2 separate regions of the Homo sapiens genome follow, and region 1 is linked to region 2. Evidence: promoter capture Hi-C in 16 types of primary human blood cells and fetal thymus (Javierre and others, 2016). All regions are on one chromosome and are shown on one strand. Each heading gives the region's core, a stretch centred on a gene start or on the middle of the fragment in contact. The rest is flanking DNA. Distances are from core to core; before and after follow the strand shown.

Region 1 (5,962 bases), core at 1,200-3,699, 210 kb before region 2:
GTTTGAAATCAAGGTGTGGGTAGGGCCTCTCCCAGCACCTGGTGGCTCCAGGTGTCCCTTGGCTTGGGGCTGCATCACGCTGGTCTCTACCCCCATCTTCCCATGGCCTTCATCCCTACTTGTGTGTTTCCTCTGTCTGCACCTGTGTCCAAATCTCCCTCTCCTTTCTTTTATAAAGGCACCAATCCCTGGATTAGAGCCCACCCTAATCCTAATCCAGTGTGACTTCATCCTAACTTGATTACATCTGCAAAGACCCTATATCCAAATAAGGTCCTATTCCCAGGTACTGGGGGTTAGGACTCGAACATATCTTTTTTGGGGGGTTACATTCAACCCACAGCAGATAACAAGGGCCATCCAAAATTGAGGTCCCCCAGGTGACCCAACTATCATTCATTCATTCATTTCTTCTCCCCAACACAAACACTTATTTTTATTTATTTATTTATTTTGAGACGGAGTCTTGCTCTGTCGCCCAGGCTGGAGTGCAGTGGTGCAATCTCGGCTCACTACAACCTCTGCCTCCCAGGTTCAAGCAATTCTCCTGCCTCAGCCTCCTGAGTAGCTGGGACTACAGGCGCATGCCACCATGCCCTGCTAATTTTTGTATTTTTAGTAGAGACAGGGTTTCACCATGTTAGCCAGGATGATCTTGATCTCCTGACCTCGTGATCCACCCACCTTGGCTTCCCAAAGTTCTGGGATTACAGGCGTGAGCCACTGCGCCCTGCCCCAAATACTTATTGAATGCCTGTTGTATGCCTGGAAATGAAATGGACTCTGGGTCTATATGGCTGCACATGATGGTCAGAATTCCTGTTCTCCTGGAGAGACTGACATTAATCAAATAGACTCACATCAGAGTAGAACTTCAAACCATCCCAAGTGTCTTGATGGAAATTTAAACAATGGCCAACAACTTCAATGATTTCCCAGTGCACTTGGTTCAATATCCAAGCTTTCTTGTGTAGCCTCGAAGCCCTTTGAAACTGGGTGCCTTTTTACCACCAGATCATCCACCCCATCCCACCGTGCTTTTCCACTGTGAGTCCCTAGTGCTGAAAGGGCAAACCTTTGGCTGCCTTGAGGCTATTGCCTGTGCTGTTCCATCCTCTGCTCTGTGCTGGGCTCTCCATCTTCGCGGAGATCTCGGCATAAATGGCATTTCCTGGCAGTGCATCCTTTCCAGGCACCCCTCTTCTGTTCACTCCATTCTCTTCTCTCCTGTGCAGCACTCATCACATCTGGCATTTATTATCTGCTTTCTTACTTCGGTTTACTTTTTTGACTTTTCATTCTGAAATAATTTCAGACTTACAAAAATGTTGCAAAAGTGGTAGAAAGAGTTCTAGTGTATGCTTTGTCCAGTTTCTCTACAGGTTAACATCTTACGCAGACATTGTGCAATGATCAGAACCAGGACGTTAACATCAATACAGTGTTCTTAACGAGTCTACAGACCTAATTCAAGTTTCATCCATTGTCCCATTAATGTCCCCTTTCTGGTCCAGCATCCAGTCCAGGATCCTGCATTGTATTGAGCTGTCATGTCTCCTTCAATCTGAGACATATCTTCTCTTTTTGTCTTCTACGACTTTGACACTTTTGAAGAGTAGTGGCTCTTATTTTGTAGTGTCCTTAGTTTGGGATGGTCTGATGTTTCCTCGTGAGTAAATTCTGCTCATGCGTTTCTGGTAAGAATGTTGTGGAAGCGATGGTGTATCTTTCCCAGTGCATCATCTCAGGAGGCACACCATGGCAATCATGCCATTCCTGGTGATCTTGACTGTGATCACTTGCTTAAGGAGGCATCTACCATGTTTCTCCACTATTAAATTACTACTTTTCTCTCTGTGATTAATGATTACCTTATGGGGATATACTCAGAGATAACAGAAATATCTTGTACTTCATTATACATTCCCTCACTAATTTTAGCATCTATTGATAACTGTCAATGATTCTTGCCTACAATTATTATTGGTGGTGTTTTCCAAATGGTCATTCTCTAGTTCCATCACTCTTTCTGAGTTTATTTTTGTTTTTAGAGATGGGGTCTCACTATGTTGCCCAGGCTGGTCTTGAACTCCTGAGCTCAAGAGATCTGCCTGTCTCAGCCTCCCAAAGTGCTGGGATTTCAGGCATGAGCCACTATGCCCAGCTCTTTCTGAGTTGATTAACAGTAATTGTGCTGTAAAGATGTACTGTCCCTTCTCTCCCATTTATCTTTTTATTCAATTATTTATATTACTATGAACTCCTGAATATTTATTTTACTTTATCGGTTATAACACATTACTATCATTATTTATTTTGTTGCTCAAATTGTCCCTGATTTGGCCATTGGGAGCTCCTCCAGTTAATCTCCTGTGTCCTTCCTGTATGTCTTTGTCATTTTAGGGGGAGTACTTCCTCATTTCCTGGTGCCAGAAGATCTTCCAGGATCATTTTGTATTTTTTTCAGTCCCATCCCTGAAACTGGCCATTTCTCCAAGGAGCTCTGATTCCTTTTATTGGAAAATGGTGTTTAGAAACCAAGATCTGGGTGCTAGGTGTGCTCACTGCTAGTGGGCTGTCACTTTAGGCTTCTTAACTTTTTCTTTTCTCCTTCCTTCCTTCCTTCCTTCCCTCTGTCCTTTCTTCCTCCCTCCTTCCTTCCCTTTTCCCCTTCCCTTCCCTTCCCTCATTTCTCCCTTCCTCTGCCTGTGACTCCACGAGTCTGCCAGCCTCATGAGGGCTGGGTCCTCATCTCTCTTGCTCACTGCTGATTCTCTAGCACCTGGCACAGTGCCTCAGGGATGCCCAATACATATTTGTTGTGTTAAGTCATGGAAAGTGCTTAGGACAATGCCTTCATAGACTAAGTGCTCAGTAAATGCTATTTATAATGACTACTTTTCGCTGAATGAATGAATGGCTTGTGGTCCATAGCAGCACGTGTGTGACTTCCTTGTTGACCCTTCTCCCACCCCTCAGGATGTGGCCATTACAGTCAGGCTTGAAGCAGGAGAGGAGAAAGACAAGGTTTACAGCTGTTGGGATTGCCAAGAATCTGGCTGAGGGCAAAAGGGTGATCAGTCAGGGAGTTCCCAGCAGGCTGGGGGCCCAGGCTGATCCAAGCAGGTAGAGAGGAAAGAGAAGTAGGTGAAGGGAGATTGGTGTGTGAGCATCAGATCATGTCACAGGCTTAGATGGGTTGGATCTGGCCTAAGAAGCGAATGCCAGGTGCTTTGCTTTAAAGCCTCTTTTCACCCTTGGAACCTGCCCTAGTGAAACCAGGATCCTGACATGGTCCTGCACCCCCAAGGAAGCCTCCACTAGCTCCACAGTCACATAATGCAAGCCATAAATGTCAGCCCTGCATGTGATTTTACTGGTGCATGTTTTCTAGTAGCCATGTTAAAAAAGCTAAAAAGAGACAGGTAAAATCAATTTTAATGATATATTTTATCCGGCTCCAAGTACTATATATTTCAACATGTAACAAATACAACGATTAATGAGATATTTTATGTGCTTTTCCCCCCCATACCAAGTCTTCAGAACTTGGTGTATATTTTATACTTACAGCACAACTCAATTTAGACAGGTCACATTTCAGGTGCCCTGTGACTACATGGCCAGATTAGACAGCAGAGCTCTAGCTCAAGGATGGAGCATGCATGTCACATTTTGCTGTATCAGAGGTTTTCAAGTTGGCTTCTGAAGACCCTGGGGTTATTTTTGAAACAGATAGGGCAACCCAGTGGGTAGGATGTAGTCTTTGACCCAGCTTTAGCCCAAACAGTCCCTATCTGTTGCTCTGTTTTATATACTGAGGTTTGGATTAAGATTTGCTTTTTTTTTTTTTTTTTTTCTTAAAATATCTGAAACCCTCTAGTTTATTTCAAAACCGTCAGCTTGAGGTAATTCACCTAGAAAGTTTGGACTTGGAGGAAGCTTACACATATTTTAAATAAAAATTTCAGCAATGGCTCCCTACCCAAAAAATAACCTCTCTTGATTAGAGGAGGCTGCCTTTTACAAATGGAGGAGATATGCTGGCTGCGATGGTGGCCCTGGCTGCGTGGCCATTAAGCTTCAGAGACCGGCTGTGGAAATGGAGCCATTCCAGCACTGCTGCAGCCAAAGATGTACTTTCCAATGAAGTCACTGCACAAAAGGCATGCAGGGTTTGCACCAGAACACCCCCAGAAGGCTGCAGATTGGATGCTATGACTGGATGCTGCATCAACAAACACAGAAATATGAAGACACACTTTGCATTCTAAGAAGCCCACCTCCAACCTCTGGTGTGAATGGCTGGTCCTCAGATACCTCACATGTCTCTCATTTGGCTATAATGGAATCTCCTCATCCACCTAATCCGAGAATCTTCGTGTTCAGGGCTGGCAGGCAAGTTGGGGAATGGGTTGGACTTTGCTACCTTGGGAAACACAGAAATTATATGCTCTAAACAAAGCACCCTCCACCCGCCGCAGCCTTCAGCATCCCAGCCCTGTGGAATGTGCCCTCCTCTGCTCAGTGCACTCAGAGAGTTGAAGGCTGCCCGAGAAAGTCAGTCAAGGGGTACCTGGCAGAGCAGGTCTGAGGATGTGAGAAGCAGAAGGGCCTTTGGATTAAGAAGCTGCGGGTTGACAGGTGATCAAAGGGACAGGGTTTGGTTAGCTACTGGCCCCCCAGTTCTCCATGAAAAGTCTCAGGTCAGTCTGGACCACGGGATGGAGGACAAAGGTGGGCCTTGCTTGGTACCACCTGGAGAAGGTGACTGCTTCATGTTTGTGTGACATGTGCTTAAGCCACAATGGAAAACGCTGCGTATGAGGAAGCGGCTGGCCACTGAGGATAACTCCCCGAGGCCTCTGCTTAGCCACTCCTGCTGAGGGAAAGGAAGTGCACAGTTCACAGAATGGGAAAGGAATGGGGGCCTGGGGAGACGAGTTCTGGCCCACCAAGCCTGGCTCATAAGCTAGGTTTTTCTGTTTGTTTGTTTAGGAATGTTCCAGAACGAAAACTGTGCACATGAAAACTCTCCCTTGGCCTCATGATAATGCTAATTATTCTTGCTCTGGCTGGAGCTCCCACCCAGTTGGAAACTGGAACATCCCAGCCACAGGCCAGCTGCTTCCAAAGAGCCAAGGAAGCAGGGTGACAGATGGAAGCGTTTCCCTTTTCACCCAGATGTTCCGGTGTTTTGGAGACAAGGCCTCGTTAACTTGACTTTAGCACCTGCGTTCCCAGCTTGCACGTTGGTCTGTAGACATTATTTATACCAAACTTGGCCAATGCTGTCCACTGATGCCAACATCCCACCTGGTGCTTGGAGGAGCCGGTGAGGGGATGATGACAGCTTGTAGCATCACTGCGTAGAAGGGGTTCTGAATGTGCCCAGATCTCACTGAATGTCCTGTTGCCTGCCCTAAGCGGTGTAGTTAGGAGTCAGTGTTTTCCAAACAGAATGTGTATCTGGGAGTCTCCCGTTGGACTGAACTTTTATTAGCTCTCTTGGCAGAAGGCTGAAGCTTTTATTGTTCTATAGAACAGGACTTCGGCAAGATAATCACAAGGTTTTGACACATTCAATAAGAACGAAGGTGTTCGTATACATCATGGCGAAGACCCCTCAGAACCCAGAAAGGGTGCCTGAGAGGGACTCCTGGGATGCCCCCTTGAGCGGCTGAACTCTTCATGGCCTTGGCAACTGGTTCTCCACCAGATCTTCCCCAGAGGGGCCAAGAATCTTGTCGGGCCGCAGAAATATTTAGGTTTTGAGGAGAGAGGGATGGAGGATGGTGGTTTCCATTGAGTACCCTTGGATCTGAGACCTGCCCAAAGATGTCGGGGGTGACTGGGAGGAACCCCAGCGTCGGGGGAGGCACACCACTCACCGAGCTGTTCTTGGGAGCTTCCACAAGGGGGCCCTCTTGAGCTTTGGTTGGGGCGATTGGGAGCCAGTGGC
Region 2 (6,570 bases), core at 2,076-4,575:
GGTCTCAAACTCCTGGCCTCAAGTGATCCACCTGCCTCAGCCTCCCAAAGTGTTGGGATTACAGGCCTGAGCCACGGGGCCTGGTTCCACATGAGCTTTTGACAGTGCCAGAATGAACCATGTCCTTTACTACTTCAGGCCTTTGCATGAACAATTCCTTGGTCAGGGATCAGACTGCCTGACACACTTTAACCGATCCCTCCAGGCCCAACTCAAAAGTCTCATCGTAGTCCAAGGGGCCTTCCCTAACTCAATCTTCTCCCAGTGACTGGATCTCTGGATTTTACTGTTCTACTTGCTTCCCCTTCCTCCTCCTGGCCACACACACATATGCGTGCACATGCACAAACACACACACACACACACACGCTATTGCGTCCCCAAAGCCTCACGGGTCCTGTAGCTTTTCAGAACTGATGTTCAACAAATGTATGTCAAATGAATGAATGAATGAAAATGCTAGAAAATACGAAGCAGATGCACCGAGGAAATGTTTCTTTGAAGTATCGGATATAATGGAATCTGAGAGCCTCGTGGCAATCAGCTGAGTCTAAGCAGGCATTAGGTTTTATAGGGGTGAAGTCTGACATGAAATTAACATATAAATGTAGATTTCAAACACCTAGAGCCATCTTACAAGATAGGATTTCAGAAATGTGTCCTAGAATGTGAACTGTACCAAAAAACATCCTAGTAAGTTCTAGGAGCTTTATTCTGATTTGTCCCAGAAGTTTTTAATCTTTTCTTCAACTTTGGAGCAAAGTCTGAACATCCAATTGAATGTGGAATAGGTTTCAAGCCATCAAAAACATAAGTTGATTTTTGGGTTGCATTAAAGATCTGGTAATTTGTTTTAAACTTTCATTTTTTAAGGAAAATTAAATAGAGTTGAATTTTTCATTGACAGTGAAATATATAGTAAGCCATGGATTAATACCTTCATAAAAATTTATCTAAACAAAGTGCTGCCTGTCTTATTTATGTTAAAGTCTGTAAAGTCAGCAGTGAAAAAGGGAAAGTACTTTCCTGGAATGTATTTGTATCTGTCACAAGCTGAATCTTGAGGAAATTGGCAGGCATTTGAAGTGGAATAATTCCTTAGCGTTCTGTTTAGTTTGGATTTCTTCAATTCGGGGGTGGCTTAAAACCAGAATCACCAATATTTGCTTTTAACAAGCATCTAACGTTTTCTCTTGCTTTGTGTACACTAAGTGCTCAACAAATGTTGGTTGAATTGAATCATTTTGTTCATCCTTTCTGGGGACTGTCAGGGTTATTCAGTCTATTCTTAAATATGAAAGAATTCTAAAAGAAAAACATCTCCAAAATGACCTCTCCACCAACAGTTTATCTCATTTCCAACTCCTTGTACACAAACCTGCTAGATCTGGCTTTCTGAAATGCTTCTTGGATCCCTCTTCAGTTTGCAAAATTCTATAGAGTGAGCCAGGCTCCCCAGTCGATCTCCTCACCCACTCCTATTTTCCAGGAACCTTCTGTTCTAACCACACAGGTTTCAGAGCCTGCTGGACATATTCTGCGTCTGTGTTTCCTCCCAGGACTTCTCCCACGTGGAAGGCCTTCTTTCTCAATCTCTTCGCCTGTGGAAGTCCTATTACATCTGTCAGGGCATGGCCTTAGTCTCTCACCCTCTAGGAAGATCCTCCAGCTGTCTCAGTCCTCTGGAGTGCCGTGTGCCTGTCTGCAACGTATTTGCAAACAGAAAAAAGAGTGAGAGATCTTCATACACACTGTTAGTACCCTTTACCAATGTGTGAAAACATTCAGCTGCTGTAAAATCTTTTGAAGAAAATAAGATCCAATTAGCGTTGACTTTTATGTCGGGAAAGCTGAGGGTTTCAAAGGAATGCCTTTCAGTCATTCAACAGCTTTTTTTTTTTTTTTTTTTTTTTTTTTTTTTTTTTTTGAGTGCCTGCTCTGTGCCAGGAACTGGAGGAAAAAAAAACAACAAAAAGTCAAAAAGACCTGCCTTCAGGATGCTGAAGCTCTAGTCTGTGGTGTTTCCAAGGGGCCAGGGACCATGGCTCAGAGCTGAGCAGACAGACCTGGAGCCTGTGGACAGGGAAGGTGAAAGCCTGGCTTGTGGCTCCCGGGGCTACAAGTTAGGGAGCTAGGGGGCCAGCTGGGAGGTCAGTGGTGGAAAACCTCTCACACCACGCCAGGGAGTTGACAGTGCTTTTTTTTCTTTTTTTCTTTTCTTTTTTTTTTTTTTTTTTTTTCATTTTTAGGCTGGTTATGAAGAAGAAACTCAAAATAACAGGAGTGGCTTATGGAACTACATGGAGGTAACAGAGGAGGGTACCAACCAAAGGCCCTTGAGCAATCAGGATGTTGGGTAACAGATTTTTGCTTTTAAATGACTCCTGGGTGGAGCTTCCCCAATGCATCGTCATTCCCTGACCCTTGCATCTGACCCTGTGGGTGGGACCCTCCGCCTCCACCATCCACTCAAGGCTCACCCCTGGCTCCTCCACCACCCGGCTCCTGCCCCACACCCCCGATGGCCTTTCCTCCCCTGTAAGGCGACTGAGGTGACTCAGGTCACCCTGCTCCTTCCTCGTCTCATCTCGTCCCTCCTTTCCTGCTTAGACTGTGCCAGATGACCCTTCTTGCAAAGGGGTGGGCGGGAAGGCCCCCCATGCAGCCAGGCAGTGCCTGGATTTGTAACTGGCCATCCCAGCAGCAGTGCCCTGGATGGAAAGCCACGTCCCTGTCACCCTCTCACATCCAGGGCAGTGCCTGGCAGAGCGGGGTCTGATAAACGCCAGGGAACCTCCGATTAAGTGAGGAGGAAGTGACCGTCCACGCTGTACCCACCATGCCAGGCAGTGGGACAAAAGGACCTGACTCAGGTCCAAGAGTCACTGGGCCCCTCCGGCCTAACTGATGGGTGGCCAGGGTGCGGGGTCCCTGGGGATCAAAAGCAGCTGCTAAGGGACCTCGGGGGACCTGCTTGGGGCCAGCCTGAGGCCTGACCGGGCGGAACTGCGTCGGGTGGGCTTGGGCCTACGTCGGCCCAGGCCCCACTGGAGGCCAGGCCCGTCCGGGAGGCGCTGCCTGGCGGGCCACGTCGCCCCGCGTGTTGGGCAGGGCCGCTAGGCCCAGGGGCGGCGCCGCTGGAGGCCGGGCGCGCGGGCCCTACTCGGCAGGGCCTGCTCGGGGCCGGCTTCGGGCCTGCCCGGCCGGGCCTGCCCGCACCCTTCCGCCCGGCCTGGCCGGCGCCCCCTCGCGCCCCGGGCGGGCCCTGCACGTCTCGCGAGCAGCCCGGAGCGGCGGGGGAGGCGGGGCCCGCGGGCTGCCGGGCAGGGCCGGGGCGGTGCCGAGGCCGGGCCGGAGCGGGGCGAAGGGGGCCGAGCGGCGGGCCGGGCCGGGCCGGGCAGGGCCGGGGCGTGGGCCGGCAGGAAGATGGCGAACGTGGGGCTGCAGTTCCAGGCGAGCGCGGGGGACTCGGACCCACAGAGCCGGCCCCTGCTGCTGCTCGGGCAGCTGCACCACCTGCACCGCGTGCCCTGGAGCCACGTCCGCGGGAAGCTGCAGCCCCGGGTCACCGAGGAGGTGAGCGGGCCGCCGGCCGCCATGCGACCCGCGCCGCGGAAGCCCAGGCCCGGGCGGCCCGCGGAGGCCCCGCCTCGCCCGCCGCACCCCCGCCGCCGCCGGGCCGGGCCCAACGAGGCCGGGCCGCCTCCCTGAAGGGCTCAGCCGCCAGGCCAGTCCTCGCCCGCGGAGGCCCAGCCCCAGGCCCCGTCGCCGGTGCGGCGCGGTGGTCCTCCTGTCAGCCCAGCCCTGCGCCCCGCGAGGCCGCGACACCTGCGGACGGCGGGGGGGGAGACGTGGCCGCTCCCAGGGCCGCGCGTCGGCCCCGCCTGGCGACAGGCCCTGGCTTCCAGAAGTTCCCATGGCAGTGTCCCCAGCTGCCTTTCCTTGGGGACACCTGGCCCCTGCCCCCTCTCTGGTGGAAGCCGCCTAAGCCCTATCCGAGTGTTGGAAGCAAAGCAGCCCCCAGCCTGGCCCTTCCAGGCTTGGTGGCTTCATCCCACCAGGGGGATGCGAGCCAGCCTAGAGACAGTTAGCTCTGCAGAGAGGCGACACATCTCCCTAAGGATGGGAAAACGGTGGCCGGGAGCTGCGCAGTGCCCTTCCAGGACTGCAGGAGTGGTTGTGGCCGTGGCTGCAGGGCAGGGCCTCCTGGCACGTGGCCGCTGTTTGAAGCCTCTGTGTCTTGTCTCTCCCTTCTGATCTAGCTCTGGCAGGCTGCCCTGAGCACGCTCAACCCCAACCCCACGGACAGCTGTCCCCTCTACCTGAACTACGCCACCGTGGCTGCCCTGCCCTGCAGGGTGAGCCGGCACAACAGCCCCTCGGCCGCCCACTTCATCACGCGGCTGGTGCGGACCTGCCTGCCGCCCGGAGCGCATCGCTGCATTGTGGTGAGTGCTTCGAGAGGAGGCAGCCACGGTGCTCCTAGTCGGGCAGCGGTGAGCTCGGGCCTGGGGAGCTCACAGCCCTGCTCAGACTGCAGCGCACGCCCAGAGGGCTGTGGACGTTATCATCCCTGCTCTGTAGACAGGGAAACAGGTCCAGAGAGACGCGGGGATTTGCCCCAGATCAGTTTTGGTGGCAAATCAGAGACTCAAACCTAGATTTCCTGAGGCCCACTTTGTGTCTGTCCCTCTGTCCCTCATTTTCATGGCTGGTCAGGCTGTTGACATCTGGTGGCCAATGTGTTATTTCTCTTGGAGCATGACCAATGGTGGTCCCATGGTTCCGGGGATGACCTGAGGGATGGGGTGGCGGCTGCTGTGGGACATCTCTGTCTAGATGTCACCTGCCAGGGAGCTGATGTTCCGGAGGCGTTCAAAGAGCAGCTCCCTGCACTCCCTGGTGGCGGCCCTTGCACCCCTCACGCCGTCTCCCTATGTGCCACAGATGGTCTGCGAGCAGCCGGAGGTCTTTGCTTCCGCCTGTGCCCTGGCCCGGGCCTTCCCGCTGTTCACCCACCGCTCAGGTGCCTCTCGGCGCTTGGAGAAGAAGACGGTCACCGTGGAGTTTTTCCTGGTGGGACAAGACAACGGGCCGGTGGAGGTGTCCACATTGCAGGTGGGTGTCTGGAAGGGCAGACACTGCCCCTGGGCCCGGGCAAGATCGGGCAGGTGGGAGGGAGGTCGGGAGAGGGAAAAGCTTGTTGCGGGGGCAGGAGGGGGTTCCTGCCCTTCCCAGGAGCTTTGGTTCCTGGGAAGCGGCAGAGGCTTTTCCAAACCCAGGCCCCCTGCCTCTGCCTCAGCGTGGTCTGTGACTTCAGGATTCTGTTGTATACAGGCAGTGTTTGTTGAGCACGTAATCAGTGCCAGGAACGTCCATGCTGTTTTCCAAATAACCCTGCCCGTTTATGTGAGCTCCGTGTGCACGTGTGTGATGTATGCACGTGTGTGTGTATGTGCGTGCACATGTGTGTTGCTGTGCGTGTATGAGTGTATGTGCATGTGTTGTATGTGTGGGGGGTGTGTGTGTGCATGTGTGATGTGTGTGTGTGTGTGGTATGTGTTGCTGTGTATGTTTGCTGGTGTGTGCATGAGTGGTGTGTGTGGTGTACGTGTGGTATGTGTTGCTGTGTGTGTGTGTTTGCTGGTGTGTGCATGAGTGGTGTGTGTGTGTGGTGTGCATGTGTGGTGTGTGCATGTGTGGTGTGTGTTGTTGTGTGTGAGTACTGGTGTGTGCATGAGCAGCATGTGTTGCTGTGTGTATGAGTGCTGGTGTGTGCATGAGTGGTGTGTGTGTGTGTTGTGTGTGTTGCTGTGTGTGTATGAGTGCTAGTGTGTGCATGAGTGGTGTGTGTGTGGTGTGTGTGCATGTGTGTTGCTGCACCCTTTACAGGGAGCACTTCTACATGTGTTATTTCACTCAATGCTGAGAATGATCCTTTTGAGGCTGCAAGGCCGGAAGTGATTTCCCAGCTCCAGATCCTTGGATGGGCCTGACATCAGGCTCCTGTCCCCACGGCAGCGGTCCCAGCCTCTGCGCCTGCCACCTCCAGTCCCCGAGCCCACAGCGCCACCCAGGTTGTCTTTTCTCATGTGTCAGCGCTCATTCTTCACTTCTGGCTCTGGAAGGCTGTCGCCTTCACCCAGGCAAGCTCTCCCACATCAGCACTTGGGCCACACCTCATTTCTTTCACTGTGTGCTCTCTGAGGCCTGTAACCACTGCCCCTCAACCCAAATTCTTCCATCTTCACCAGCATGAGATAGCTCCCCTTTTTTCCCTTCGTCTCTGAGCTTTTAAAAAAGTCTAACTGGTTTGCCTTGCTTAATCCTCTTTTCCCTCTTAACCCATGGAGACAGAGTTTTTGCCCCCATCCTGACATTGTTTTCTAAGGACTGCTGGATGGGGTGTTGCCGTCCCTCCTTGAAGTGCATCTGCCCCATCCAGAGGTCTCCCTCCCTCCCGCTGCTCCCCAGACTGCTGCCACCTCTCGGCATCCCCTTCATGGCCTCTCCAGCGTTCCGACCTGCTCAGCCCTCTCCGGGTCAGACACCAGCATCTGCCTCTTCTCT

What was found. The method cuts DNA at HindIII sites, captures the fragments that hold promoters and counts their contacts. A CHiCAGO score of 5 or more calls a contact.
Region 1: a contact is called between a fragment that was not itself captured here and the fragment with the promoter of NPEPL1 in region 2, in 1 of 17 cell types (endothelial precursors). The highest score is 6.8, in endothelial precursors.

Annotation. Positions count from the first base shown.
Region 1 is chr20:58,475,754-58,481,715 of GRCh38, forward strand. All of the region lies in intron 1 of APCDD1L (APC down-regulated 1 like), which reads right to left. Among named protein-coding and RNA genes, the nearest start is that of APCDD1L-DT, 37 kb to the right of the region's middle. The HindIII fragment of the contact is 2,981 bases long and covers 960-3,940 here.
Region 2 is chr20:58,689,475-58,696,044 of GRCh38, forward strand. It overlaps NPEPL1 (aminopeptidase like 1), which reads left to right and starts at 3,326. Exons shown (of 12, transcript NM_024663.4): 1 at 3,326-3,576; 2 at 4,263-4,448; 3 at 4,948-5,118. The coding sequence starts at 3,427. It overlaps STX16-NPEPL1 (STX16-NPEPL1 readthrough (NMD candidate)), which reads left to right. Exons shown (of 23, transcript NR_037945.1): 9 at 1,560-1,753; 10 at 1,931-2,088; 11 at 2,250-2,306; 12 at 4,263-4,448; 13 at 4,948-5,118. RefSeq lists enhancers at 2,759-3,464, 4,905-5,512 and silencers at 2,962-3,451, 3,462-3,621, 3,652-3,731, 3,752-3,841. The HindIII fragment of the contact is 11,943 bases long and covers 1-5,197 here.